Regions from separate parts of the Homo sapiens genome. Here all the other regions are linked to region 4. Evidence: promoter capture Hi-C in 16 types of primary human blood cells and fetal thymus (Javierre and others, 2016). All regions are on one chromosome and are shown on one strand. The core of a region is centred on a gene start or on the middle of the fragment in contact, and the rest is flanking DNA. Distances in the headings are between cores, read along the strand shown. Region 1 holds the start of SMIM22 (small integral membrane protein 22). Region 2 overlaps ADCY9 (adenylate cyclase 9). Region 3 holds the start of TRIDDENT (TRIM28 interacting DNA damage repair enhancing non-coding transcript). Region 4 holds the start of PAM16 (presequence translocase associated motor 16). Region 5 overlaps CREBBP (CREB binding lysine acetyltransferase).

Region 1 (3,836 bases), core at 1,337-3,836, 440 kb after region 4:
CTGGGTGACAGCAAGACTCCGTCTCAAAAAAAAAAAAAAAAAAAAGGCCAAGCATCGTGGCTCACACCTGTAATCCTAGCACTTTGGGAGGCCAAGGTGGGTGAATCACCTGAGGTCAGGAGTTTGAGACCAGCCTGGCCAACATGGTGAAACCCAGTCTCTACTAAAATACAAAAGTTAGCTGGGCGTGGTGGCAGGTGCCTGTAATCCCAGCTACTCAGGAGGCTGAGGCAGGAGAATCGCTCGAACCCGGGAGGCGGAGATTGCAGTGAGCCGAGATGGCGCCACTGCACTCTAGCCTCAGCAAAAAGAGCGAAACTCTGTCTCAAAAAAAAAAAAAAAAAAAAAGGGAGGGAGGAGGATTAGAGTCAGAGGAGGAGACGTGAGCCTGGAAGCAGAGGGTGGAGGGATGGGAGACCACAAGCCCAGGAATGCCACCACCCTCTAGAAGCTGGACAAGGCAAAAGATGGACTCTGCCCTAGAACCTTCAGGATGAACACAGCCTGGTCGACCCATTTTAGACTCTGACCTTCAGAACCATAGGGCAATACATTTGTGTTGTTTGAAGCCACAGAGTTTGTGGTAGTGTTACGGCAGCATTGGGACATGGATACATTAGGTGTGTGACGGGCTAATGGCTAAACTTCTCTAGGCCTCCGTTTCCTCATCTGTAAAATGGAAAAAGCAATAATACCCACTTTAGGATTGCTATGAGGAATAAACCAGGTGACACAGCACAGTGCTCGATGCAGAGCCCCACATTAGCTGATATTTTCAAGTAGTAAAATAGAGAAAATAAGGACAGTGAAGAGTCCTAGTACAGCTGGCCTTCCGTATCCACAGGTTCCACATCTGTGGCTTCAGCCAACCACAGACAGAAAATATTTGGAAACAAATCACATCTCTATTGGACATGTACAGACTTTTTTGCTTACTGTTCCCTATACAATGTAACAATTATTTACCTAGCATACATTATATTAAATAAATATATGTATACAATTTTTTCTTGAGATGGAGTCTTGCTCTGTCACCCACGCTAGAGTGCAGTGGTGCCATCTTGGCTCACTGCAGCCTCTGCCTCCTGGGTTCAAGCGATTCTCCTGCCTTGGCCTCCCGATTAGCTGGGATTACAGGAGTATGCCACCGCACCCAGCCAATTTATTTTTTTTGAGATAGTCTTGCTCTGTCACCCAGGCGGGTGTGCGGTGACATGATCTTGGCTCACTACAGGCTCCGCCTCCTGGGTTCAAGCGATTCTCCTGCCTCAGCCTCCCAAGTAGCTGGGATTACAGGTGCCCGCCACCACAGCGGGGTAATTTTTGTATTATTATTATTTTTTGAGATGGAGTCTTGCTCTGTCACCCAGGCTGGAGTGCAGTGGCGAGATCTCGGCTCACTGCAATCTCTGCCTCCAGGGTTCAAGCAATTCTCCTGCCTCAGCCTCCTGAGTAGTTGGGACTATAGGCGCGTGCCACCATGGCCGGCTAATTTTTTGTATTTTTAGTAGAGATGGGGTTTTACCGTGTTACCCAGGATGGTCTTGATCTCCTGACCTTGTGATCCGCCTGCCTCGGCCTCCCAAAGTGCTGGGATTACAGGCATGAGCCACCACACCCGACCAATTTTTGTATTTTTATCTTTTTTTTTTTTTGAGATGGAGTTTTGCTCTTGTTGCCCAGGCTGGAGTGCAATGGCGTGATCTCGGCTCACCACAACCTCTGCCTCCCGGGTTCAAGTGATTCTCCTGCCTCAGCCTCCCTAGTAGCTGGGATTACAGGAATGTGCCACCACGCCTGGCTAATTTTGTATTTTTAGTAGAGACATGGTTTCTCCACGTTGGTCAGTCAGGCTGGTCTCAAACTTCTGGCCTCAGCTGACCCGCCTCTGCCTCCCAAAGTGCTGGGATTACAGGCGTGAGCCACTGCGCCCGGCCCAATTTTTGTATTTTTAGTAGAGGTGGGGTTTCGCCATGTTGGCCAGGACGGTCTCAAGCTCCTGATCTAAGTAAGTGATCTGCCCAACTTGGCCTTCCAAAGTGGTGGGATTACAGGTGTGAGCCACCAGGCCAGGCCAAATATATTAAGTATTATAAGTAATCCAGAGATGATTTAAAGTATAGAGTATATGCACAGGTTATATGCAAATACTGCCTCATTTTATATCAGGGAGTTTATAGCATCTGTGGATTTTGGTACCCACGGAGGTGCTGGAACCAATCGTTGAGGATTCCAAGGACAACTCTATGATGCAGGCACACCTGTCCTAGCTGCTCAAGGGTCGTGGGATGCAGGTAGGTTTTCTCCCCCTTCCCCCTCCCTCCCACCCACCTTCTCTCCCATCTCTCTCTCTTTCATTCACGAAGTCAGCAGTGGCCAAGCACACAGGTGTTCCCAGCTGCATATCTGGGATACTGAGGAAAGGTAAGAAGTCTCAGGAGTGAAGAAGCCACAGGCCGGCGTCTTCCTCCCTGGGCCTCCAGCAGTGGGGAGCCAGGGAGCGCACCTGCTGGGCCTGGGCCCTCTCCCCTGGGCTGGGCGGCCTCTGCTGGCCCTGGGGAGGGCGGGGCTGGTTGCCAAGGCCTCAGGTGGTGTGGAGCCGGAAGCAGGAAGCAGCCTGTGCTCCCCAGGACCTGCCTGGTTGGGGGAATTGGAGGCTTCTAGGAGGTAGGTGGGGGCCTGGGGGCTGGGCTGCCAGGGGGAGAGAGAGGGGAGATGACAGTGGCTGGGGAGAAGGTTGTCAGGGTAAGGACCACAGGGCTGGGCAAGGAGAGAAGCTGGGCCTGGGGCCGAGGGAGAAGTGGAGTGGGAGGGGGTGGGGAAGCTGGCGCTGGGCCAGGAGCGGGCAGTGGCTGGGCTGTGGGAAGCCTGGATGTGGTCCCCGCTGAGCTGAGCCCAGGATCCTGATGCAGCCTCTGGGGGACCGGGGCAGGTGGCACGGTGCACGCCAAGATGGCTGTGTCCACAGAGGAGCTGGAGGCCACGGTTCAGGAAGTCCTGGGGAGACTGAAGAGCCACCAGTTTTTCCAGTCCACATGGGACACTGTTGCCTTCATTGTTTTCCTCACCTTCATGGGTAAGTGTGGCTGTGGCCTCTGGGTCCTCCCAGCCCCCTGCCCTGGGCTCCAGGTTGGGGCCACACCTGGACGCCTGTCCTGTCCCCAGGCACCGTGCTGCTCCTGCTGCTGCTGGTCGTCGCCCACTGCTGCTGCTGCAGCTCCCCCGGGCCCCGCAGGGAAAGCCCCAGGAAGGTGAGCCCCTGGAAGGTGAGCCCTGCCGGCCTCTGGGACCTGCACGGAACTGTACTGGGGGTGGAGGCGGAAGGTGAGGGGAGTGGCGGGAAGGGTGCTCATCCCCCTAGGGAACAACGAGCGAACCTGCTTGGTCCCGCTGTGCTTCTCGTGCAGGAAAGACCCAAGGGAGTGGATAACTTGGCCCTGGAACCCTGACCCTGTGTCTCCTGCCCGGTGGCAGTAACAAAGCCTTCTGTCTGCCCAGAGCCTGAGTCTGCAGTGTCTTCCAGTCCCCGTCTGGGTGGGTGACGCGGGACTCGCCGCCCCACTCAGGTGGCCACCTGGCCTCTCCAAGCCTTCAGTCAGCACGACTGTGCCAGGTCATCCTCAGTCACCTAGCTGGGAGGGGAGCTGGTCTCAGGCCGGGCGCGGTGGCTCACACCTATAATCCCAGCACTTTGGGAGGCCGAGGTGGGCGGATCACGAGGTCAGGAGATCGAGAACATCCTGGTTAACGTGGTGAATCCCCGTCTCTACTAAAAATACAAAAAATTAGCCGGGCGTGGTGGCGGGCACCTGTAGTCCCAGCTACTCGGGAGGCTG
Region 2 (4,405 bases), core at 541-3,040, 380 kb before region 4:
GACAGGTTGGTCTCAAACTCGTGACCTCGTGATCCACCCGCCTCGGCCTCCCAAAGTGCTGGGATCACAGGCGTGAGCCACCGCGCCCAGTCTCTGCTCCCTTTGATAACTGAGCCTGCTTTCAGCGGGGCTGTCTCCACTTCAGTGGCACTGATGGAGACAGCCATGGTCAGGGGGCTGCAGATGAGTGGTGAGTAGCACAATTTCTTTTTTTCTTTTTCTTTTTTCTTTTTTGAGACAGAGTCTCACTCTCTAGCCCGGGCTGGCATGCAGTGGTGTGATCTCAGCTCACTGCAACCTCCACCTCCTGGGCTCAACGATTCTTGCGGCCCAGCCTCCTGAGTAGTGTGCGCCACCAGGCCCAGCTAATTTTTGTATTTTTTTTTTGGTAGAAACGGGGTTTCACCATGTTGGCTGGGCTGGTCTCAAACTCCTGACCTAAAGTGATCTGCCCGCCTCGACCTCCCAAAGTGCTGGGATTACAGGTGTGAGCCACCACACCTGGCTGAGTAGCACAATTTCTTAAAGTTTGTTTGAAATATATATATATATATATATATATATATATATATATATATGTATTTTTTTTTTTTTTTAAGAAGAGACAGGGTCTGTCTCTGTCATCCAAGCTGGACTGCAGTGGTGCGATCCTAGCTCACTGCAGCTTTGACCTCCCAGGCTAAAGCGATCCTCCCGCCTCAGCCTCCAGATTAGCTGGGACTACAGGCACACACCACCACACCTGGCTAATTTTTTGAACTTTTTGTAGAGATGAGGTCTTACTATGTTGCCCAGGCTGGTCTCAAACTCCTGGGTTCAAACTGTTCTGCTTCTGCCTCCCCAGTGTGCTGGAATACATTTTTTCCCATTTAAAAATACTACATACTCATCATAGAAAATGTAGAAAAAAATAGACAAAAAAGATTTGTCCATCGTCCTGCCATCCAGAGGCAATCACTATTAACATTTGTTGAACTGCATTCTAGTCTTTTTCTTTTTTACAACACCGTGACTGTTCTGTTCATGTAAATGCTGTACCCTGATGCATTCCTCCCGCGCACAGAGTAGGCCAGTTGATTTGATGCAATAATGGGCTTGGTCACTATATACTTATATATGCGACTGGCGGATCCACAGTTTAGACAGCTCCATCACACTGGAAAGCTCAATTCTTTTTCTTTTAGAGACAGGGTCTCGCCATCTTGCCCAGGCTGGTCTTGAACTCCTGAGCTCAACCAATCTGCCTGCCTTAGCCTCCCCAAGTGCTGGGATTACAGGGATGAGCCACCACGCCTGGCCAAAACTCAATTCTTCTTTTTTCTTTCTTGCTCTGTTGCCCTGGCTGGAGTGCAATGGCGCGACCTTGGCTCACTGCAACCTCCGCTTCCAGGTTCAAGTGATTCTCTTGCCTCAGCCTCCCGAGTAGCTGGGACTACAGGTGTGCGCCACCATACTTGGCTAATTTTTGTATTTTTTAGTAGAGACAGGGTTTCACCATGTTGACCAGGTTGGTCTGGAACTCCTGACCTCAGGTGATCCACCCGCCTTGGCCTCCCAAAGTGCTGGGATTACAGGCACGAGCCACCATGCCCGGCCAAAAGCTCAGTCCTTTAATCAAAGTGTCTAATAAGTTTCACTAACTGTTCTTGGGATATTAAAAAACAATGAGCTTGACCTGTGTGGCCATCACGGCCCTCTGCGAAGCACAACCGCCAAAAGCCCTGGCCGTGGGTGGAACAGAACCCCTGGGCCCCATCCTGGCTGGACCGCGGGGGAGTTTCAGAATCTTGGGTAAGCCATGCCATCTTTCTGGGTCTCAGTTTCCTCGCTTGTAAGCTGTGAAGATGGACTGGAGCATGGCTACGTCCCTTCCAGCCTAAGGTTCCGTGCAGGAAAGGCCTGAGGCTGCCATCCTTGGAAAGACCTGCCTGCAAAGGTGGTGGCTGGCACCAGGGAGCTGGGATTTGGGGAGGGTTCCTGCCATTCCTTGATAAGAGCGGCTCACACTGCCTACACTGTCTAAATAAGGAGGTTTACGCTGAATACCCGCTTTCCTGCTGGAAGTCTGGAATTTAGGCACGTGCTGGGCAGAGGCGGGAGACCTGAACAGCCCCTAATACAAGCCTGGACACCGAGACTTTAATGAGCTTCCCTGGTAGGCAGCATGTTACAAGTGTTGTCACCACTCACTGCTGGAGGAATTAAGCCCATCCCGTGTGACTCTACCGGGAGAGGACTCTTGGAAGCTGGTGCCGGCTTCCTCCAAACGTCAACTCACACACCCTTCCCTTTGCTGATTCTGCCTTATGTCTTTTCGCTGTAATCACAGCGGTGAGAGAGCAGATTGCGGAGTCCTGAGTCCACCTGGGGCTGGTCTTGGGAGCCCTGATACGGGCTTTGTGACTCAACGCCTATGACCAGGAACCAAGAGTCCTCAGTGGGAAGACACCCTGTGCTTCACTGACTCATTTCGTGAACTGCTATTGAAACAGATGACATTACATATCCTACATCTCAAGTACTAAGCAAAATAACCATTTGTTACGATGATGACTCAAACATATTTCTGTCCAGCTCCATGAGCCCTCTGGTTGATTGTAAATAGAGCAGGAAGAGAATATGGACTGGGGGAAGGTTTTGTGAGCCCCGCTCGTTGGGTTAGGAGTTGACCTTTCTTTTGGTTTCTCAAAGTGGTGACACCAAGAACAGTCCCCTTTAGGAGCAGGTGTCACCAAGGTCTAACATCCCCATTATGTGCAGGGGGTGTTTCCAGTCTCTGTGGTGGAAATGGGAGACTGTATCTGGGCTTCTCAATCAGTTATCGCTTGTACAGCTCACTCTAATCTGCGGGAGCCGGAGCCAGCAGCACAGCTGACTCGAGACGGGCGCAGGCCAGGCCCCTCCAGGCAGAGGAGGGACAGCAGCACATGGGCTAGTGCCAGAGGGAGAGGAAGGCAGAGCACAGCGTTTGCTTTCCACCTTTGCTTCCAAGGAAGAAAAGCCATCACACACAGCATGTGCACTCAGAAACCAAGGGGGCTGCCTCGCAACAGAAGGCATCTGTAAGAAACAGGTACGAGGACAGCTTCCCAGCTAGAATGTGTGTTTCCTATTTTAATACCAAAGGAACAAAGGAGCCGATCCTATTCCTAAATTCAAATAGCAAAGATCCACTTCAAAAAGAAGAATTTCTTTTTCTTTTCTTTTTTTTTTTTTGAGATGGAGTCTTGCTCTGTCCCCCAGGCTGGAGTGCAGTGGTGCGATCTAGGCTCACTGCAACCTCTGCCTCCCGGGTTCTAGCAATTCTCCTGCCTCAGCCTCCCGAGTAGCTGGGATTACAGGTGCCCGCCACCACGTCCAGCTAATTTTTGTATTTTTAGTAGAGATGGGGTTTCACAAACATGTTGGTCAGGCTGGTCTCGAACTCCTGACCTCAGGTGATCCACCTGCCTCAGCCTCCCAAAGTGTTGGGATTACAGGCGTGAGCCACCACACCTGGCTCAAAAAGAGGCATTTCATGTGACTAAATGCAGGAGTTAATTTATAAGTCATAAATGGAAGTTAGAGTAAAATACAGTGTAATCCGTTATCATGGAGAAGAGGGATTGAAAAACTGAAAAAAATAGAAAGCAAACATCACTTGCAGTCCTAACCAGCCAAACGTGGCTTCGGTTGACACTTTGGTATATTTCAGTGCCATTTAAAATCTGCCCCTAGGGAGGTGGTCAGGTCGGGGGAGAGGGGGTCAGCAGCGGTGGGGTTGGAGGGCTTCTGGGGTAGTGGTAATGCTCTACTTCTTGGTCTGGGTGGTAGTTAAATGGGTGTGTTCTCTGGTGAAAATGCACTGAGCTGTCCTTTTATGATCAGGTACTCTTCTGTGCATACTGACATACACATCAATAAAAGGTTAAAAAAAGATGCTAGGTGCTTTACTTTTAAGTACTAAAGCTGTAATCATCACTCATTCATTATATCCTAAGTATAAATCTTGTACATATTTTTACTATATATAAATACCTAGTTGTACCTATAGTACATATATAGTTTCACCTAGTAAATGAAAATCTTAAATGTTTTCCATATTTACTGCATTTTAACAGTTGTATTATTTGAGTAAATGTATAATCAGTTAATTTATTTATTATTGACAACTACAGTTGCTAATGAATCTTTTTTTTATTTTATTTTATTTTTTGAGACAGAGTCTCACTCTGTCGCCCAGGCTGGAGTGCAGTGGCCGATCTTGGCTCACTGCAACCTCCGCTTCCCAGGTTCAAGCAATTCTCCTGCCTCAGCCTCCCAAGTGGCTAGGATTACAGGTGCCCACCACCACCCCAGCTAATTTTTGTATTTTTAGTAGAGACGGGGTTTTGCCATGTTGGCCAGGCTGGTCTTGAACTCCTGA
Region 3 (4,182 bases), core at 1,530-4,029, 400 kb before region 4:
CCCCCACCCACTTTCCAAGGGTCCGGCTGTGTCCAGCCAACCAGGAGAAGAGTGGGGACAGTAGAGGCTGAGTTCGTTGACAAATATCATACAACACAATTTTTAAAATGTTTCTGGAACATTCCAGGACCCGTTGTTGTGGGGAGGGGCCTGCCCTTGCTGAGCTGGTCCCTTGGTCTCCTGAGGTGATCTCAACTGTGTCCATGGCTTTTGGACAAGGTGAGACGAACTTAATTCTTTTTTTTTTTTTTTTTTTTTTTGAGACAGAGTCTCGCTCTGTCGCCCAGGCTGGAGTACAGTGGCGTGATCTCAGCTCACTGCAACCTCTGCCTCCTGGGTTCAAGCGATTCCTGTGCCTCAGCCTCCTGACTAGCTGGGATTACAGGTGTGTGCCACCACACCCTGCCTGTTTTTGTATTTTTCAGTAGAGGCAGGATTTCACCATGTTGGCCAGGCTGGTCTTGAACTCCTGACCTCAAGTCCACGCCCCTTGGCCTCCCAAAGTGCTGGGATTACAGATGTGTGCCACCGCGCCCGGCCTGTAATCCTACTGGCCGTCAAATCCACTTTAAAAGCAGTAAAGGCATTTGACTCCTTCCTGTTTCTCGTTCCTTCTCACCCCCACTCAGGCCATCTCCCCTCGCCCCACCACTTCCTCCCTGCACCTACCTTTCTTCCTTCCTTTCTCGGTGAAGTGAAGGGTCACCTCTCATTGTGGAAGAAGGACTAGTAAAGCCAGCTTTAAATGAACATTACTGGGTTGGCCTATGCCAGGCAGGCGCGAGGTCTCTATTCCCCATGTGACAATCAAGCTGGGTGCGTTCACGCCCAGGATGCTGGGGTTGTCCCACCTCTAGGTTTGGAGTGGGACGACGAGGAGAAGCAATTTGTTCAGGAGCAGAGAAAGTTCGCTTGGCTGTGACTCATCGCCTCTCCATTGAGAGTCTCCGGCGGGTCCGTGATCATCGGACACGATCATGATCCGTCCTCAGGCCCCGCCTGTGCAGAGTGCGCGGAGGCCAAGGAGTTATTGGCAGAAAAGCAAGAGCGGAATGAGCTTGCGTACTTGAAGTCTGTGGCCGTCTGCCAACATCTCCTTCAAATATGAACATTCTTATTTTCGCTCTGGAAGTTTTTGTCAGGTTTATTGCAAATGCAAGGGTGGTGAGCAGACAGAAAGAAAATGGTATTTACTGAGCTGGAAGGACTGTTTTCTCAACCGTTTCTCAAGAGCACGCAAGGAGACGTGCACTTTCCTGGGTGACATCAGGTTCTCCGTGGGGATTTTAATCCAAATCAGATATGGCCTTGTTTTACGAGGGATCCTCTTGGGTCTCAGGGTGTGAGGATTCATAATAAGTACACGTCCATCCAGTACATGGCGAAGACCATTGTAAGCCACCCCTGGAAACACATACAAGACAGATGGGCACGCAGTTCACAGGATAGCGCAGAATTCTAATGAATTTCATTGGCATCAAATGTTATGTTCCTGTAAACTGAGAGCCATGAAATTAGAATGAGTGCCTCACAATAGTTCAAAAGTGACTCACTTCATTGAAAAAACGTCTCGGAAACATAAATTGGTAAATCAAAACTAAAACTAGTACCCTTTAAAAAAAACTGAGAATGATGTCCCTAAGTTTTTTTTTTTTTTTTTTTGAGACGGAGTTGCGCTCTTGTTGCCCAGGCTGGAGTGCAATGGCGTGATCTCGGCTCACTGCAACCTCCGCCTCTTGGGTTCAAGTGATTGTCCTGCCTCAGCCTCCCGAGTCACTGGGATTACAGGCACCCACCACCACTCCCAGCTAATTTTTGTTATTTTTAGTAAAGAGGGGGTTTCACCATGTTGGCCAGGCTGGTCTCAAACTCCTGGCCTCAAGCAGTCCTCCTGCCTTGGCTTCCCAAAGTGCTGGGATTACAGGCATGAGCCACCGTGCCCGGCTGGGATGACTATTTTAATCTCAAGAGAGCCATCTGGGTTCCTTCCAGGGCACAATTCTATTTAAGGATATACTTTCTTATTTTTACACAAGTTTGATAACTGGATAAAAAAAAGACGAACTTTTTTTTTTTTTTTTTTGCATGGACCAAAAAATGTAGCCATAAGAGCATTTGTTAATACGCACGTCTAACATCCTCCTTCCCACCTCCCTGTGCAGCACAAAGTGGTAAAGACAGCAAGAATTTTCTTTCTAAACAGTTGGGCTGAAATTAAACAACAACAACAACAAAAACCCAAATGCCCATTCTCCTCCCAGCGGAAGTACAACCTCTCTTTGTATCATGTTACTCATCCGCTGCACACACCTGTTCATCCAACAACAGCTAACAAAAGTCAGACTCCGAGTTAAGCGATGTACACATCACAGTTTGTGCTGGAAATCTGATCCAAGCACATGGACAGAACTTTCTATGGTTCTCGGCTCCTAAGCTTGGCAGCTTGTTTTCAGCGTATTCTTAAAAACCTAGGAAACTGGCAATCATACTTCTAAGTTAAAAGATTGGGAAATCAGGCCAGTGAATAAATACTTACTTTGGATCTGCACTATTGATGAAAAATAAAAAATCACTGGAAAAAAATGAGCCCCTTTCTTCTATTTTTGCTCAAAGCAGTCCAAAGAAAACAAGTTTTGGTTCACTGCTGTCTGTGAGCTCAGTGTTGAACAAATTCCAGCAAAATCACAGAGAAAGTTGGAACCAGATTTGCAGCGCTCTATCTCATACATGTTTCTTCTTCTTCTTTTTTTTTAAGAGACAGGGTCTCGCTCTGGTGCCCAGGCTGGAGTGCAATGGCACAATCACAGTTCACTGCAGCTTTGAACTCCTGGATTCAAGCGATCCTCCTGCCTCAGGCTTCTGAATAGCTGGGACCACAGGCACGCACCACCACCCCCAGGTGCCTTTTATATCATTTGTAGAGATGGGGTCTCACTATGTTGCCCAGGGTGGAGTGCAGTGGCATGATCATAGCTCACTGCAGCCTCCAACCCCTGTTGCCAAGGCTGGTTCCAAACTCCTGGGCTCAAGTGATCCTCCCACTGTGGTCTCCTAAAGCACTGGGATTATAGACGTGAACCACCACAGCTACCCCGTGGTTCTTAAAAAGGGGTCTCCTTAAAAAGGAAGCTTCACCTTCCTTTTTGGTGTGAGGGAGACAGACCGTCAGGGAGAGGGCACTTTGTTCTTCTAATTGCCTTTCTGCAGAGGTTCCTGCTCAAGGAACGGGACGCCTAAACCTCAAATCCCCAGTGGCATTCAAGGCTGCTCGCAGGCACAGGGCGTGTTCTGGCCAATCCTGTTCGAGCAAGGGGAGCTGACATTGGCCCAGCACAGGCAGGCTGCACAGAGCTGCAGCCCATTCTTCCTGGAAGCGCCTGCATCAGAGCCAAGGACAGGCCACCTAGTAGCAGTGTCCCTGGAGCCTGGTGCTTGGCTCAGTACATTAAAATGCAACAACCAGGCCGGGTACAGCAGTTCATGCCTGTAATCCCAGCATTTTGGGAGGCTGAGGTGGGCGGATCACTTGAGGTCAGGAGTTCGAGACCAGCCTGGCCAACATGGCGAAATCCCATCTCTACTAAAAATACAAAAATTAGCTGGGCGTGGTGGCCTGTGCCTATAGTCCCAGCTACTTGGGAGGCTGAGGCAGGAGAATCACTTGAACCTGGGAGGCAGAGGTTGCAGTGAGCCGAGATCGCGCCACTACACTCCAGCCTGGGCGACAGAGCGGGGCTCCATCTCAAAAAATATATACGTATTTCACAGATACAGTCCTTCCTCGTTTTGGTAATTGACAGAGCATAAGCAGTTTTTAATTTTTTCAAATTTACAATTAGGCTCCTGCACGGCAACTCTCTTCCTGTGAACTGAAGGGAAACTTGGAGTCTCCCTCTCCACAGGGTTCTCGTCTTCTGGAAAAGAGAAGATGGGAAAATGCGGATAAGAAGAGGGTTAGAGGGGAGGAAAGAAATAAAAACCGAGCAATTTCTAGAAAACATGATGATTAAAAAAAAACCATCCACGCTTTTGGAATGGACGGATTCTTTAACACCTGTGGATTTCCTTATTCTGTGACTAGCAAGCTCCCAAGCCCACAGGTAGGAAGCTTCAGCCAGTGTGTGTGGAAAAAACGCCGGTTTTGGGATACGACGGACAAGTCAGAAGCCTGCTTGAACCGCC
Region 4 (4,021 bases), core at 665-3,164:
AAATACAAAAAATTAGCTGGGCATAGTGGAGCATGCCTGTTGTCCCAACTACCCGGGAGGCTGAGGCTACTGGGGAGGATGAAATGGGAGGATCACCTAAGCCCCAGGAGGTTGAGGCTGCAGTGAGCTGTGATCGTACCACTGTACTCCAGCCTAGGAGACCCATCTGGGGCAACACAGCAAGACCCCACCTCTACATAAAATTTAAAAATTAGCCAGGTGTGCTGGCACTCACCTGTAGGCCCAACTACTTGGGGGTCTAAGGTAGGAGGATGGCTTGAGCCTAGGAGTTCAAGGCTGCAGTGAGCTAGGATCGCTCCACTGCATCCTAGCCGGGGCGACAGACAGACATCCTATCTCAAAAAACAAACCAAAAAAACCCCATGAGTTTTGGGACAGAGCTGGGCTCAAAAGAGGTCTCTGACACCATGGGATGCATGACTATGGTGGAGTCAAAACTGTCTGGGGCTCAGGTTCCTTATCTGTAAAATAAGGACAATGACAGCAGGACTTCATAAACACTAAATGAGAGACTCTACATAAAGCCTTAGCTCAGGGGCTGGCACTTGTACGCCGTTAGCTGTTACATTATCCTTATTACTATGTTAGTTAAGAAGTGGCTCCCCGAACCAGCTGCAACAGAGTCACTTGGGGAACTTACGTGTGCAGAACCTCCAGGGATAGAGCTCAAGAACCTGAACTTTTTTTTTCCCCCTCTTTTTCTTTTTGAGAGAGTTTTGCCCTGTCGCCCAGACTGGAGTGCAGTGGCACAATCTTGGTTCACTGCAGCCTCTGCCTCCTGGGTTCAAGCGATACTGGCGCCTCAACTTCCCAAGCAGCTGGGATTACAGGTGTGTGCCACCATGCCTGGCTAACATATGTATATATTATGTGTGTGTGTGTGTATATATATATATAAAATACATGATATATAAAAATATATATAACATAATAATATGTAGTATACATAAATGTATACGGTATATATAATACATATATATAATTTTTTTTTTGAGACGCAGTCTCACCCTGTCGCCCAGGCTAGAGTGCACTGGCGGATCTCGGCTCATTGCAACCTCTGTCTCGCGGGTTCAAGCGTCTGTCCTGCCTCAGCCTCCCGGGTAGCTTGGACTACAGGCGCGCACCACCCCACCCGGCTAATTTTTTAAATTTTTTGGTGGAGACCGGGTTTCATCATGTTGGCCAGGCTGGTCTCGAACTCCTGACCTCGTGATCCGCCGCCTCGGCCTCCCAGAGTGCTGGGATTACAGGCGTGAGCCACCGCGCCCAGCCAAACCTGCACTTTTAAAGCTACCCTAGGTGACCTGACAGTGTGGCGCAGGTCTGTTGACTGGCTCTACGTGCCAACGATATCACACAAACGCTCCGTGCTCGGTGTCTCGGGGCCTAGTTCAAGTCCCAGGTCAGCCACTTCCCTGGAAAGGCCAGCTTTCCACTGGGGATAACAACAGGGCAGCAACATCGACTCTGCAGCGCTGTAAGGTTCCAGGGCAGGGGAGGCGCTCACCAGCCAGACTCATGCTCCACCGCTGCCCACGGCTGCTCGCTCACACGCGGGCTAGGCACAGCGCGACCACGTTTGCCCGGCCTCTTCCAGGCAGACGGTTTTCCCTGGCCCTGAGGCCGCCGGTGCCGCCGCTGCCGGCCTCGATTCCCCCGGGTGCAACGCCCCCAGACCATGCTTCCCGCCGGGCACGCAGGGGGCGCACGGCGCCCGCCGCCCAGCCCGGAGCTCGCCGCCCGGCCCCCGGCCCCCGGCCCGACTCGGCTTCCCCTCCCCGGTAGCGCCCGACTCGGGGCTCACCATGGCAGCCGCTCTGCCTCCGGGGCTCAAACTCCGACTTCCTGGCCCCGCGGCCGGGGATCAAGCGTGGTCGGCGGGTCAGAGGTCAAGGAAAGCCGCAGAGAGCGCGTGCGCGATACGGCGCTGGGCATGCGCATTGCCTCAGTCTAAGGGCGGGCCACCGGGAGCGTCTTAGCGGCTCGGGGCGGGGTCGGAGGCGGGGTTTGACTGAGCCTGCGTCGGGCTCTGGATAACTGGGGGCGGGCTTGGGAGGGCAAGGGGCGTTACCGGGAGTCTCAATTGCCCGCGTGCTTACCCCAGTGCGCTGGAGCAGCTAAGCACATCGGTCAGACGTGGGGCGATTTCTGCCCTTGATTTTGCCAAAATATTTGGGAATGCAACATTATATGAAATCAATGAACATAATATGGAGTAGGATGCTAAATTCTCAAAAATACTTTAGAAAATAGAAAACTTCAAAATAGGTTTCATCCACATTCCTCCTGCCTGAGAAGCTCGTTCCCTTCTTCAAATCTTTGCTCAAATGTCACCTCAATGAGGCCCACCTGGACCCCTTAAAACGCCGTGACTTGCCCTCCATGAATGAAAAAAGTAACAGCTTTATTGAGATATAATCCATACACTGTAGATTTCATGATTTTCAAGTGCACAGTCCAATGCCTTTTATTCACAGAGCTGTGCCACTGTCACCACTATTAGTTCCAGAACGTTTTCATCACCCATTAGTCACTCCCCAGCCCCCTCCCCCAGCCCCTGTCAACCACTCATTTTTCTCTCTATGGATTCACAGGTTCCGGACATTTCATAGAAATGGAATCATACAAGCCAGGCGTGGTGGCTCATGCCTGCAATCTCAAAACTTTGGGAGGCCGAGGTGGATCGCTTGAGGTCAGGAACTCAAGGCCAGGCTGGGCAACATGGTGAAACCCCATCTCTACAAATACAAAAATTAGCCGGGTGTGGTGGCAGGTGCCTGTAATCCCAGCTACTTGGGAGGCTGAGTGGTGGATCTCTTGAGCCCGGGAGGTACAGGCTGCAGTGAGCTGTGATCACTGCACTCCAGCCTGGGTGACAGAGTCAGGCCCTGCCTCAAAAAAAAAAAAAAAAAAAAAAAAGGTAAAAATGAAAAATGAAAAAAAAGAAGAAATTGAATCATACAATGTGCAGCCTTTTGTGACTGGCTTATCCTCCCTTCTTGTCTCTATTTTTCTTCCAAGACTCTGATCACCCTCTACCATACCACATAATTTACTTATTTATTTTATTTATCATTTTGAGACAGGGTCTCACCCTGTCGCCCAGGCTGGAGTCCAGTGGCACAATCCTGCCTCACTGCAACCTCCACCTCCCAGGTTCAGGCGATGCTCATGCTTTAGCCTCCTGAGTAGCTGGGATTACAGGCATGGACCACCATGCCCCATTAATTTTTGAATTTTTAGTAGAGACAGGGTTTCACCATGTTGGCCAGGCTGGTCTTGAACTACTGGTCTCAAATGATCCACCCGCCACAGCCTCCCAAAGTGCTGGGATTATAGGCATGTGACACTGTGCCCAACCGGTTTTTTATTTTTAAATTATTTTTCCTTTTTTTTTTTTTTTTGAGATGAAGTCTTGCTCTGTCACCCAGGCTGGAGAGCAGTGGCCCAATCTTGGCTCACTGCGATCTCCACCTCCTGGGTTCAAGTGATCCTCCCACTTCAGCCTCCGAAAGTGCTGGGATTACAGGTGTAAGCCACCGTGCCCAGCCAAAAAAAAATTTTTTTTTTTCAAGATAGGGTCTCACTCTGTTGCCCAGGCTGCAGTACAGTAGCATGATCATGGCTCACTGCAGTCTTGACCTTCCAGCCTTGAGTGATACTTTCACCTCAGCTTTCTGAGTAGCTGGGACCACAGGCATGTGCCAACACATGTGGTTAATGTTTGTTTTTTGTCTTTTTGAGAGCGTCTCCCTGTTGCCCAGCCTGGAGTGCAGTGGCATGACCTCGGCTCACTGCAACCTCTGCTTCCTGGGTTCAAGAGATTCTCTTGCCTCAGCCTCCTGAGTAGCTGGGACTACAGGCATGGGCCACCATGTCCGGCTAATTTTTTGTATTTTTAGTAAAGACGGGGTTTCACCGTGTTAGCCAGGATGGTCTCGTGCTCCTGACCTCGTGATCCGCCTGCCTTGGCCTCCCGAAGTGCTCGGATTACAGGCGT
Region 5 (4,336 bases), core at 1,608-4,107, 470 kb before region 4:
AAAAAGAGTTCTAGCGTCAAACAGGATTGAGAGTGGTCCAACTGTAGCCCCTCTCTCACAGTGCCCAATCAGGACACCAAGGCTCTGGGAAAGTCTGCAGTCAAATTCCTCAGCTACAAGCAACAGCATCTGAGCACAAACCATTTGTTGAGAAATACCTCTTAGCATGCCCTCTAGTTTCTTGGAATACATGTGAAGAGCTGGTTTGAGTAAGGTAAAGAGGGGTGCCCTCACTAATGGGACCCCAAAAACTAAACTGACAAGCTTTTGCAATCTTCAGAAACTCACAATAAGGTACATTTCATCTTAACTAAGGTAAGACACACTTTGGCAAAATCATTTTCCTAACTGTTTTCAAATACATCAAGTAAAAACACAAGTCAGCAATTATGGACCCCCCAGGTAATCACATACTTTGCCACACAATTACAACACACTACTTAGAAGCTGTGAAAACACAGGCGACTAATCTAAGCATCAACTTCCAACTGCAGGACTCAGTCTCTTTGTAAGTTATGTTCAATTCTGTTTACAGAATCAAATCTGAATGTTCAGCCAGGAGCGACTTTCCATCTTCTGAAGGCCCTCTAAGGCGCCCTGCACATGACTTGTCCTTGCCTACCTTCATCCCTGACGACCTTTGAATGGGGCCACCGCTCTCACCCCTCTCAGTTATTCAAAAACGAAGCACGGTCATGAAATGTCCTAGTCCTAAAAGTCTCTATGACAACTTTTATTCCTACTTAGCCAGAACTCACTGATGGGGTAACATAACCGTTTCTCATTCTCCCTGAGGTAAACAGGAACACGAGCCCACACACGTCACGCTGAGGATAACACCAGAACCAGAGGGAAAAGGGGGACGCCCTAACCCAGGAGGAAGAATACACTCCTGGCTGCCCCCACCACAGGTGGTTACAAACCTCCCCCTTAGTGATCTCATTCATGTGCGGGAAGGCCGCTACTGAAACTCACTAAGCTTGGCAGGTTCCTGGGTCGATTCAAGTAAATGCATTGTTTACAGATAGAGACTTAGAAAATAAATATATAGAGCTACGGACTTTAACAATCTAGTTTGGATCTGGTTTTGACCCTGTATCACCTCTCAAGTCCAGTTCCTCACCTAGAAAATAGCAGTAACAGCATCTTCCCTTCCTCACAGGACGCTGTAAGGATCAAACTGAGGTGACGTGGAGAAAAGCACTCTGATACATAAAGTACCAGACATACATAACAGACCATTTGGTTGACAACCATATTCGCCACCAGCTTTCTTTAAATAAGCTTCCCTATTGCATTTAAAAGGATTCACGTCATAAAATGTAATCACAACTGCTTAGAGCCACTTATACAGCACAGGATGAAACACAGCTATGTTCAATCTTCAGAATGTAGTTTTTCTTTTCCTTTTTCCCCCAGAGACAGGGTCTCACTCTGTCACCCAGGCCAGAGTGCAGTGGCATGATCACAGCTCACTGCAGCCTCGACCTCCTGGGCTCAAGCGATCCTCCTGCCACAGCCTCCTGAATAGCTGGGATTACAGGATTGTACTATTACACCCAACTAATTAAAAAAATTTTTTGTTTAGATGGGGTCTCACTATGTTGTCCAGGCTGGTCTCCAACTGCTGGCCTCAAGCAATCCTCCTGTCTCAGTCTCCCTAAGCACTGGGATTATAGGCATGAGCCACCACCCTGGCCTGCAATTTCAAAAAACTTTATAAACAGTCTGTTGTGTGCAAATTTTGCAATAAAGCTGACCAAAAAAAAAAAAAAAAAAAAAAAAAAACAACCCAGAAAACAAAAAACAAAAGTCTACTGCTTGCCTGGATATTTGTCTTATACTGTTAAATCATGAATCTCTGATGTTGAAAGACACAATATGCTATTTTAACTTGGACATATTAAATAAAGAAGTTTCCAAAACACCCAACTAACTATATACCGGTAATATAAAGTCCCCACTTATTGTAAGGGTGCCAAGTAAAGGAAGACCTCATGTATGAGAAAGTGTAAAGGCTTCTACATAATACAAGAAAATGCTACTTTAACATCTGAGGCCATCAAATTCTGTGCCTCTCCAGGGCTGCTGCTTCAGTGGGGTGAAAGGTACCGTTTCTCTCTTGCTACCCTCATTCGCAGCACATTCCGTATTTCTGCATCATCTCTGCATAAGCTTCCCAGGCTTCGGCAACTTGTTTGTCATCAGTGGCAGTGACATTCATCACTCTGAGGTGCTGCATGACCTTCGGGAGTGCTGTTTGCAACATCCATGCCCCCAGATGAGCAGCACCCTGGCTGAGCAGCTCCCCAATGTCGGGTGCATTTTTCTCTCAGCTCACTGCCACCCTTCACAGACACATCTAAGTGACACTGGTGGCCCCACAGGCCAGTCTCTACAGACATGCACTGCAGTCCAAGTAGATCCTGTTTCTCAGGCTGCCAAGGGCTCCTCCTCCTTTCAACCCCTCAGCTCCTAGACAGAGGTCCCCTCCCTCAAATTTGATCACATGCACCGGGCACACACCCTGCTCCACTAGGCCCAATTTTCCCCTGGGAGCCTCAGAGACACATCCCGTCACTAAAATAAGATTGAGTTCCTCAAGAATGTTATTCTCAGGTCTGTCCCACCTAACCAAATGCCTTCAGTTTTTGAATGTATTTAATGTAAAAACTCAAGCCATTTATTTGTTTAAAATACATCCCTAAGATCTCTGTCCATCTCATTACTCAATTTCTTAGTGGAGCAGTTACAACAGACAAAGTGTCCCTCGTTTCTTTTGGAGACAGCGTCTCACTCCATTACCCAGGCTGGAGTGCAGTGGCGCGATCTTGGCTCACTGCAACCTCTGCCTCCCGAGTTCAAGCAATTGTCATGCCTCAGCCTCTCAAGTAGCTGGAATTACAGGTGCATGTCACCATGCCTGGCTATGTTTTTGTATTTTGAGTACAGATGGGGTTTCCCCATGTTGGCCAGGCTGGTCTTGAACTCCTGACCTGAAGTTGATCCACCAGCCTCCGCCTCCCAAAGTGCTGGGATTACAGGCATGAGCCATGGCGCCCAGCAGCCCCTTGTTTAATGTGCTTGATAATGAGCCCTTCCTTGGTCCCCCATACTAACAGACCCTTTCACAATAGTGTGATGGTGATGAATGTGTAACACATGACCCAACTTAAGTATGATGTTGACTTTCTACTTTGGATTAAATCGGAGCCATTTAAAGCTGACTTTTGGTCCCACGAAAGAGCCCCTGTGCCTTACAAGGATCAAAATTGTAAAGGAAGGGGGAAAAGGTGGTTAAGTGTGGAAAATCCTTTCTGATCAACTTATTAAGCATCTGATCATCCAATAATGGACACTACTATGGAAAAAGCTAACCTTTGGGCTCCATCTTGGAAACAGCTGGATGTACATATAAGGACATGCCTTTTTGTTAAGTCTTGTGTTACTAATTGTCCCCCTTTTTAAGACAAAATCTACAACAAATTCATTCAACAACAGCAAAGCTACAAAGCCATCCAGGTTACCAGTTTCAGAAGACAAGCTTCAAAGCTGAACTCGCCACGTATGACCTACGTCTCACAGAACTGAAGACTACTCAAACACAGCAAGATTAATGAAGCAACGGAGATCTGTTTTGCAGTACAACGGCATTTAAACTACTGTTTCCAAATTTCTCACTTCAATAAGTTCATTTTATAAGATTAACGTCAAACTCAACTTTTATCAGCTAAAAAGAAAAGCATTAGTGATTTTTATATACCATGAGCATCATTTACTCCTCCCCACTGTTTAACAAATTTTAACTAGATAAGAATCTCCTTATGATTGATCTTTAAAAATCGCTTTTCACTTCTACATTAATATTAAACGTCGCTTATCATAACTTGATTCCAGGAATTGTATTCAAACTTAAGCCACAAAATTCAGGTTTTGTTTCAACAGCAATAGCAGTTTTTTTTAATATGCTAGTGGTCGGTCACAGAACTATTTCCACAAGTTGAACAGCTGTGTCTAGTGCAAATCTGAAGGCAGCGATGTAATTCAATTTGGACTCATTCATTAGAAACTGATTTTCAGATGCTACCACTGCAAGACTACTGGAGAAATGCAAGCTGCGCTGGAGATGGAATTGTTCGCAGCGGCACACAAGTTTTTGCGGCAAAGGAGAGAGCTCTAAAAGAGGAAATACAACTAGTTCATGTTACCATGAACCAGCGCAGTGGGACCCAGAATTACTGAATTAATAGAAAACTAAATACTTCTCTTAAGCAGCTATGATAACTTAAGAAAGTTTCCAGGGAAGCCGTTTAATGAAAGGAAACAAACAAAAAGA

Evidence for each region. The method cuts DNA at HindIII sites, captures the fragments that hold promoters and counts their contacts. A CHiCAGO score of 5 or more calls a contact.
Region 1: a contact is called between the fragment with the promoter of SMIM22 here and the fragment with the promoter of PAM16 in region 4, in 1 of 17 cell types (fetal thymus). The highest score is 6.5, in fetal thymus.
Region 2: a contact is called between a fragment that was not itself captured here and the fragment with the promoter of PAM16 in region 4, in 2 of 17 cell types (M2 macrophages and M1 macrophages). The highest score is 7.7, in M2 macrophages.
Region 3: a fragment that was not itself captured here is called in contact with the fragment with the promoter of PAM16 in region 4 in 1 of 17 cell types (endothelial precursors); the score reaches 5.5 in endothelial precursors.
Region 5: a contact is called between a fragment that was not itself captured here and the fragment with the promoter of PAM16 in region 4, in 1 of 17 cell types (M1 macrophages). The highest score is 5.4, in M1 macrophages.

Annotation. Positions count from the first base shown.
Region 1 is chr16:4,792,783-4,796,618 of GRCh38, forward strand. SMIM22 (small integral membrane protein 22) reads left to right here and starts at 2,587. Exons shown (of 4, transcript NM_001253794.2): 1 at 2,587-2,667; 2 at 2,933-3,076; 3 at 3,166-3,266; 4 at 3,408-3,709. The coding sequence starts at 2,953. The coding sequence ends at 3,449. The HindIII fragment of the contact is 14,181 bases long and covers 1-3,836 here.
Region 2 is chr16:3,969,032-3,973,436 of GRCh38, forward strand. The region is part of intron 10 of ADCY9 (adenylate cyclase 9); the gene reads right to left. Among named protein-coding and RNA genes, the nearest start is that of TRIDDENT, 21 kb to the left of the region's middle. The HindIII fragment of the contact is 7,552 bases long and covers 1-4,405 here.
Region 3 is chr16:3,949,603-3,953,784 of GRCh38, forward strand. TRIDDENT (TRIM28 interacting DNA damage repair enhancing non-coding transcript) reads right to left here and starts at 842. Exons shown (of 2, transcript NR_120311.1): 1 at 670-842. It also overlaps a transcript of ADCY9 not described here. The HindIII fragment of the contact is 695 bases long and covers 2,433-3,127 here.
Region 4 is chr16:4,349,407-4,353,427 of GRCh38, forward strand. PAM16 (presequence translocase associated motor 16) reads right to left here and starts at 1,915. Exons shown (of 5, transcript NM_016069.11): 1 at 1,826-1,915. The coding sequence starts at 1,828. The region is part of intron 27 of CORO7-PAM16 (CORO7-PAM16 readthrough); the gene reads right to left. The HindIII fragment of the contact is 23,481 bases long and covers 1-4,021 here.
Region 5 is chr16:3,874,639-3,878,974 of GRCh38, forward strand. The region is part of intron 1 of CREBBP (CREB binding lysine acetyltransferase); the gene reads right to left. Among named protein-coding and RNA genes, the nearest start is that of CREBBP, 3.9 kb to the right of the region's middle. The HindIII fragment of the contact is 1,369 bases long and covers 2,174-3,542 here.